Linked DNA regions of Homo sapiens: regions 1 and 2 are each linked to region 3. Evidence: promoter capture Hi-C in 16 types of primary human blood cells and fetal thymus (Javierre and others, 2016). All regions are on one chromosome and are shown on one strand. Each heading gives the region's core, a stretch centred on a gene start or on the middle of the fragment in contact. The rest is flanking DNA. Distances are from core to core; before and after follow the strand shown. Region 1 overlaps JAZF1 (JAZF zinc finger 1). Region 2 overlaps JAZF1 (JAZF zinc finger 1). Region 3 holds the start of HOXA13 (homeobox A13).

Region 1 (2,700 bases), core at 83-2,582, 850 kb before region 3:
CATCAAGCTTCAATTTCCCCATCTGGAATGTGGGGCTTATATTATACGTATTGCTTTGGTGTTTTCAGGAATAGAAATGATCTGTATTAAAGCACAGTGTGTGGGAAACAGGCTCTCCTTCAGGAAAGCTATTATCATCAAATCAGCAAATAATCGTTGTGCATCTACTATGTGCCAGCCGCTCTTCCAAGCCCAAGAGATACATTGGTGAATACAACAAAGAGCCTTGTCTTCGTGAAGCTTACATTGTATGTAGTAAATGATATTAAAACATTATTAATTATCAAATCCATAATAAACAAAGATCTCTTGCTGTTACTATTAGAGTATTCATTTGGAGGAAGCTGGAAAGGTATACATACATATGTTTAACAGTCCAAGATGGAAATTTGGGGAGGGGTGGAGGTAGAGGAGAGGAAATCACACGCACCAAAGTGTGGGCTGGGAGATCTTCATAGGACGGGCTTAGGGAAGGCTGTTGAGGGGTGTTTTGGGCCAGGGCATGTGGCTAACCCTGGAGTGGGGAATGAGTGCCAGGCCAGGGAGTTTATAGACAGTGATAAACCGTGGAGAGCCATCAGGGATTTTTACCCTGGAATATGACTTGATCAGAGTGGAACTTCAGGAATTTTAATGTGTTAGTGATGCAAAAAGGGGATGGGAGGGAGAGAGACTAGACTAGAAGTTGGAGACATCAGGTCATTGCAAAAATTTTTTTTTTTTTAAAACACCTGAAAGGAATGAATTGGAGCCATCCTCTGTCATTTAGTAAGTCTATATTGGGAACTTTTAAAATTTAATTTCTCAAAGTCTTATTAACATGTAGTACACGAATTCTAAGTGTACTTGACTGATTTTTACCCATTGCATAGTTCATCTATAGCCCTGGTAAACACCATCCAGATCGAGATAGAGCACATTGCCAGCACCTATATTGAGAACTTTTACCTCAAAATGCAATGTGAGCGCCATGCACTGTAGCTTGTTTTAGGGAGGGATGGTGTGGGTAAGTCTATGAGGTAAATCCTACCTAGCGCCAGCCGTCTTTTCAGCTCTCCGGTCCATCTCCCTCCCCTTCCTTCCTGAGCAGCCAGTTGCTACATTAACCAGACAGCAGGAAGAAAGGCAGACTGTGTCTACCAGCGTCTGCACCTCTTCCTGCGTTAACTTTTTAAGTGGGATACACGAGGCACATTTACCCTAATGGCCTCGAGCATGAGAGAATCACATATTATACCAGGCCCTGGGTTTCCTAAAGGGAAATGGCAGAAATATTTACAAGTAGCTTTAGTGTGGCCAGAACATACCCAAACAGACTGCAAATAGAGATCCTGTCAGCAAGTGTACAAGGGGAGGCTTCACTGGGTCTAGGGGCATGACTAGGGAGCAAGGGCCCTAGGGTCAGTGTTTTTTGCCATTCTCCCTCTCAAAAGTAATGGTACAGTGTTCTCTTCGTATATAGGAAAGGACCCATTTTCGTTCCAGTGCTGGTGACTGCCTTGCCATACACTAGTTGAATATCCATGTATCAGTTGTTATAAAGGACAACTGGGATTGGTTAAATTTAAAAGGGTAGATTCTTTTTAAGTTGTATCTCTTCAACTTCTATAACTACTATGGGGTCAGTTTTATGCTAGAGCAAATAAGAGAGCCATCCTATTAATAGATAAATGGTATTGATTGAGCAAGAATGATGACTGAAAGTAGTGCTTTGTATATTTAAGTAGATATAGGATTATATGCTCTGTGGAAAATAGAATTTGAAGGTTTTGTTCTACTTCACTAATTGGTTTGAGGCACATTTACTTTTCAGAATGAAGATGGGAAGTTTATACTTGGGGAGGTATATATGCAAAGTGAGAAATAGACAAGGATTCCTACCCTAATTGAAGAAATTGAATTTTAATCCTGGAAGGAGCATAAAGACTAATGGCTTTCCTTTTTTCCTTTTCTTTTTGCTTTATTCAACAGTTTTTTAAAAAGATTGATGCAGAGCTGCTCGGGGTGTGAGGTGGGGTGGGAAAGGTGAGGATGGAAGGGTCCTGTGAGGCCCTCTAGCATCTTCTCAGTATGAGTGGATTCAGCCTGTGTCTTCTTAGCCCCCTCCAGTTCTTTCCGTACCTTTCCACTCCTTTGCTCAAAAGCCAAGTGCCAGTGTTATGAAATTTAAGAAAAGCTATTTCATTTCAAACTCTTATTGGTTGAAATCTGTCATTGGGATCACAACATATTTTGGTTCTTTGGGATACTTTTTGCCATTAATAGGAGGTATGAAAATACTGTTTTATCTATTGTTTTCTTTTGCTATATAGTAGAATCAATTTCTTCAATTATTTCCTGAATACACTCCTGTAAAAGATTTCTTCCTCCTATCTGTGTAATTGTCATAGAATTGGCAAGGATGCAGAAAAATTGGAAAGCTTATGCATTGTTTATGGGAATTAAAAACAGTACAGCCATTATGGAAAACAGTTCCACAAAACATTATAGAAAACATGTTCCTCAAAAAACTGAAAATAGAATTACTGTGTGATTCACCAAACCCACTTCTGGGTATATATCCAAAATAATTCAAAGCAGGGTCTCAAAGAGATATTTGCACGCCGAAATTATTTACGCTATTATTTACAATAGCCAAGGAGTACAAGCAACCCAAGTATCCATCAGCAGATGAGTGGATTAAGAAAGTGTGGTGTGTAA
Region 2 (2,700 bases), core at 77-2,576, 810 kb before region 3:
ATTCTATGAAGCACTTTTTAGCGAGGAAAAAAAAGAACTCTAGTGGGGAATGCTAGTAATGGGAGAGGCCATGCATGGGGTGGGAGCAAAAGTATATGGGATATCTCTGTACCTTCCTCTCCATTTTGCTGTGAACCTAAAACTGCTCTTTTAAAAAGTCTAATTTTTAAGTCTTTTTAAAAAAGGGAAAGAGGCATGTCTCAGACCTGTATGCTTTCCCATCCAGCTGGTCACCTGGTCAATTTGTATTGATTCCTGCCACCATGGCAATGAGGCCAAAACCAACCACTTAATTCAGAGAGTTGCCTGCCAGCCCCAAGAGCAACCTTAGTGTCCAGAAATAATTTTTTTTTTTTTTGAGATGGAGTCTCACTCTGTTGCCCAGGCTGGAGTGCAGCGGCATGATCTCGGCTCACTGCAACCTCCGCCTCCCGGGTTCCAGTGATTCTCCTGCCTCAGCCTCCCCAGTAGCTGGGATTACAGGCACACACCACCACACCTGGCTAATTTTTGTATTTTTAGTAGAGACAGGGTTTCACCATGTTGGTCGGATTGATCTCGAACTCCCTACCTCAGGTGATCCTCCCACCTCACCACACCCGGCTAATTTTTTTTATTTTCAGTAGAGATGGGGTTTCATCATGTTGGCCAGACTGGTCTCGAACTCCTAACCTCAGGTGATCTGCCCACCTCGGCCTCCCGAAGTACTGGGCATGAGAAATATTTGGGTCCAGAAATAATTCTATGCCTAGAGTCAGACGTGGGCAATCAAAAACATAAACTTTATTGGAAAGATCAGGAATAGCATACTTTTACCTGCTCCTAAGTTATGGGGCTGTTGACATCCCATTGCAGTAGCTGGATAGCACTTAAAGAGTGGGAATTAGGCAAGGTGGGGTGCCTGGAAAGTGTTCCATGTGCTTCTGGGGCCATGTAAGATGATGTTGGGTCATACAAGAACAAAAATGTTTTATGCTAATAGTTACATAATGCTTATTTTAATTTTGTCATAAAAAATCCATGTTCATTTATGGAAGAGATATAATAAAATCACCTTAAAAGTTAAAATACAAAGGAAAGGCCACCTGGCAATTTAATTAGAGAGCATTGTTACTGAACAGTGTTTCAGGGCTCCATGCTATGAAACAAGTTATTTCTACTCAGGGGAAGCAGCAAATGTGGTCAAATAGCACATACTTTGAAGTCAGACAAACCCAGATTTAAGGCTTTATCTCCTGGTCCTGTGATTTGGGCCTTTTCTGAGCTTTATATTTTCCTCTGGGAAGTGGGGTGGGTCAGGAGATATCTCCCTTACAGGATTTTCATGAGGACTGCACACAGAAAGCAATTCATTTTGTATTGACCCATAGTAGACACGCAGTGATAGTAATAATATCTTTATTATCAGTTATTATTGCTACTTGAGAACTATTGATTGTTCACAAATGTAGTCCCACAACGCAAGCACTAAATGCTTTCAGACCTTACTACCTAAAATAATAATGGTACCTAGTGGGTAAGTTTTTGGTGTTTGGGGTTTTTGTTTTTTGTTTTTTTTGAGACACAGTCTTGCTCTGTTGCCCAGGCTGGAGTGCAGTGGTGCCGTCTTGGCTCACTGTGACCTCCGCTTCCCAGGTTTAAGTAATTCTCCTGACTCAGCCTCCTGAGTAGCTGGGACTACAGGAGCACACCACCACGCCTGGCTGATTTTTGTATTTTAGTAGAGATGGGGTTTCACCAAGTTGGGGTGATCCAGCTGCCTCTGCCTCCCAAAGTGCTGGTATTACAGGCATGAGCCACTGAGCCTGGCCCCTAGTGGGTAAGATTTATTAAGTATTTATCATGTACCAGCCACTGTGCTCTGTGCTGTCTATGGCTTATCTCTTTTAATCCTCTTAATAACCTCTTCATGTGTAGGAGCCATGAGTCACTGTCATCTTTATCTGCTGAGAAACTTGCTCAAGTCACACAGAAAGTAGCAGACTGTCAGTAACTACCATCTTACATTGTCTAAAGAAATTTAAGCCTTTTTTTTTTTTTTTTTAAGCAACAGAAAGTCCAGAGTTAATTCCCAGAAGTCCTTCCACAGAAGCCAAGATTGTCAGGAGCCATCTGCCAAGTGCCAGATAACTGAGAAGGTCCAGGGACTTCCCAGACACCCAAATTCACACCATCAGCGAGATCAATTGAGTTACAGCTCAGCATGCTCCCCTACTCATTAGCAAGTAGAATGAATACACAACTTGCACAGAATCAGGAACGATAAATCCCCAGCTAGCACATAACCTCTGTGGCCCACGAACCTGAACACTGTGTTCCTGGCTGCCACCTGGGTGTGGAGTCGGCAGGCATAATGCTCTAGCCAGCCTGGCAGAGCCTCTTGGACCAGAATTTGACCTGAGTAAGCTGTGACCTATGTGCACTTACATTTGATAACTCTTAGGCAGGGCCATCCAGTCAGTCTGTGTCCAGATGTTCAGCTCTTTCTCCTGTGACTTTTTTTTTTTTTTTTAAGCAATGATTCGGCTTCCCTGGGAGATAGGAAGTAACGAAGGCAATTCCTTTTGTCAAATCCTTGACAAAACTGGCTTCCGAAATACAAAACTAATATACTTGGATACAGCCTGATTTGTTACCAAGGTGAATAATGACAGCACAGGAAAACCACAGTGGTTCTGGCCAATCTGACTTACAGAAAAT
Region 3 (2,700 bases), core at 50-2,549:
GCTGCTTGGTTCTTCAGCACCAACACCCTACCATGCTCCCAAGAAAAGGTTGCATTTCCCAGGCACAGAGGAAAGGCTTCTTGGACTGGTTCTTGGGCAAAGAAGGACTAGGCACCCTCTGCAGGCTGGAGATCCTACTTGAGGGGAAGGCAGGAAGTGGCCCCAAAGAGCCCCTTTTTCTTGTCCCAAAATAGAGTGAAATAGCGGGTTCCCAGATTCCTGGAGAGTCAGGTCCGGTCCACAAAGAAGCGTGGCTTTAGGGCCCAGAAGGGGGGTTTAAGTCCCAGCCAGAAGCACAGCTGGGGCTTGTTCCTCTTAAGCCCCTTCCAGAACTAAGCCAGCCATACTGGCGAGGTGGGAGCATGGATGAATGGTGCACAGGGATCGCTCGCTCTATCTCAAAGTCTCTGGAGGAGGAAGCGTTGTTACCAGGTCAGAGCAAGGATCAGGCTGTATACCTAAGTGTGCGAATGTGAGTGTGTCAGTGTACACTGTGTGTGTGTGTGATGAGTCGTTCTGAGTCTATGGGTCTAAATGCAAACATATGAAATTGCTCACTAACAGTGTGGACAGGGAAGGGATAGGGGCTCCTAAATGCAGTCCAAGCCTCCAGTGGAATGTCCTGGGACCCAGGCATATCCGCAGGAACCGATAAGCAGCAAACACCCTGCCACTGTTTCCCTGGAAAGAGCAAAATCGCAACTCCATCGAAGCCGAAGGCGCCGATGTCCGTCCTGTGGTCTCACTGCAGAAATACGCGCCGGTTCCTGGAAAGAAAACAGTCCCAGAGGCTCCAAGAAACACCCATTCTGAGCTAGGCTGGTCCCGTCCTCCCCACTCTCCCATCCCTGACCGCCGGCAGAATTACCTGACCTGTCCCCACTGCTCCAGATCGCAACCCAATCGCGCGCCCACCTCCCCTCCCCGCCTGGTTGCGCGGGTCTGGGCCCCACTGGGATAAAGGAAGGGAAGGGGGGCGGAGATGGGGCCGCCTTCCTTCCCTGCCCCACCCGCACGTTCCTCCGCCTCTCCCCCGGGTGAATGGTGCGCGGCCGCGCGGCTGGCGCTGGGGACGGCGCGGGCCGCGGCGGGGACGACGGGTGCACCGTGCAGAGCTGGAGTCGGAGCCGCCCGCTTTGCATACGCCGTGGGCGGAGCGGGGGGGCCGGGCCAATGGGCGGCCGCCTGGCGCGACCCCGCGGGGCGCGATCCGCCCCCCTCGCTCGGGCCCCGGCCCCGCGCCGCGCGCTCTTCACTTCTTGGGGGCTTTTTAAAACAGCGCCACTGGGGTCTTCTCCATGCGGCTCGGGCTATGACAGCCTCCGTGCTCCTCCACCCCCGCTGGATCGAGCCCACCGTCATGTTTCTCTACGACAACGGCGGCGGCCTGGTGGCCGACGAGCTCAACAAGAACATGGAAGGGGCGGCGGCGGCTGCAGCAGCGGCTGCAGCGGCGGCGGCTGCCGGGGCCGGGGGCGGGGGCTTCCCCCACCCGGCGGCTGCGGCGGCAGGGGGCAACTTCTCGGTGGCGGCGGCGGCCGCGGCTGCGGCGGCGGCCGCGGCCAACCAGTGCCGCAACCTGATGGCGCACCCGGCGCCCTTGGCGCCAGGAGCCGCGTCCGCCTACAGCAGCGCCCCCGGGGAGGCGCCCCCGTCGGCTGCCGCCGCTGCTGCCGCGGCTGCCGCTGCAGCCGCCGCCGCCGCCGCCGCGTCGTCCTCGGGAGGTCCCGGCCCGGCGGGCCCGGCGGGCGCAGAGGCCGCCAAGCAATGCAGCCCCTGCTCGGCAGCGGCGCAGAGCTCGTCGGGGCCCGCGGCGCTGCCCTATGGCTACTTCGGCAGCGGCTACTACCCGTGCGCCCGCATGGGCCCGCACCCCAACGCCATCAAGTCGTGCGCGCAGCCCGCCTCGGCCGCCGCCGCCGCCGCCTTCGCGGACAAGTACATGGATACCGCCGGCCCAGCTGCCGAGGAGTTCAGCTCCCGCGCTAAGGAGTTCGCCTTCTACCACCAGGGCTACGCAGCCGGGCCTTACCACCACCATCAGCCCATGCCTGGCTACCTGGATATGCCAGTGGTGCCGGGCCTCGGGGGCCCCGGCGAGTCGCGCCACGAACCCTTGGGTCTTCCCATGGAAAGCTACCAGCCCTGGGCGCTGCCCAACGGCTGGAACGGCCAAATGTACTGCCCCAAAGAGCAGGCGCAGCCTCCCCACCTCTGGAAGTCCACTCTGCCCGGTAAATGACGACCTATTCCCAGCCCTGGTCTTCCGGCTCTGCTCCAGCTTCTTCTCCGCTCGCACCCGGGCGATCCCGGGTGCGTTTCTGTTCTCTTCCTGGTCTGCCCTAGCGGCTCTGCACCCCTGGGAGCCCGAGCATGGCTGGCTGGGTCTGCCTGCACTGCCTCGAGTTGAGCTGGTCCCTGGCTCTCCCTGGGTGAGGGGTGGCTTGTGGAGACCTCGGCTAGCTTCCCTCTCCCTCTGCGCCCCGCCCTCCCCAGCCCCTGACACCAATTTAAGGATGAGAAATTGACCAGAAAACAGCTCCCCAAATTGCCCCTCCCTATTCATTCTCTCAAAAATGGCTTCAGTGTAGAAGCTTCGAGTATTGGGACGGGCACCCAGAAAGGAGGCAGGCACAGAAGTGTTGTACCTTGAGCCTGGCGCTAAGGTGTGGGCCGTTGGACCAGGCTATCACTCGAGGC

Evidence for each region. The method cuts DNA at HindIII sites, captures the fragments that hold promoters and counts their contacts. A CHiCAGO score of 5 or more calls a contact.
Region 1: a contact is called between a fragment that was not itself captured here and the fragment with the promoter of HOXA13 in region 3, in 1 of 17 cell types (endothelial precursors). The highest score is 6.2, in endothelial precursors.
Region 2: a fragment that was not itself captured here is called in contact with the fragment with the promoter of HOXA13 in region 3 in 1 of 17 cell types (endothelial precursors); the score reaches 6.1 in endothelial precursors.

What each region holds. Positions count from the first base shown.
Region 1 is chr7:28,053,188-28,055,887 of GRCh38, reverse strand. The region is part of intron 1 of JAZF1 (JAZF zinc finger 1); the gene reads left to right. All of the region lies in intron 2 of LOC105375208 (a long non-coding RNA gene), which reads right to left. Among named protein-coding and RNA genes, the nearest start is that of JAZF1-AS1, 130 kb to the left of the region's middle. The HindIII fragment of the contact is 2,180 bases long and covers 243-2,422 here.
Region 2 is chr7:28,005,227-28,007,926 of GRCh38, reverse strand. The region is part of intron 1 of JAZF1 (JAZF zinc finger 1); the gene reads left to right. Among named protein-coding and RNA genes, the nearest start is that of JAZF1-AS1, 170 kb to the left of the region's middle. The HindIII fragment of the contact is 3,147 bases long and covers 1-2,700 here.
Region 3 is chr7:27,198,690-27,201,389 of GRCh38, reverse strand. HOXA13 (homeobox A13) reads left to right here and starts at 1,299. Exons shown (of 2, transcript NM_000522.5): 1 at 1,299-2,234. The coding sequence starts at 1,313. HOTTIP (HOXA distal transcript antisense RNA) reads right to left here and starts at 969. Exons shown (of 3, transcript NR_037843.3): 1 at 869-969; 2 at 1-767. The HindIII fragment of the contact is 3,899 bases long and covers 1-2,596 here.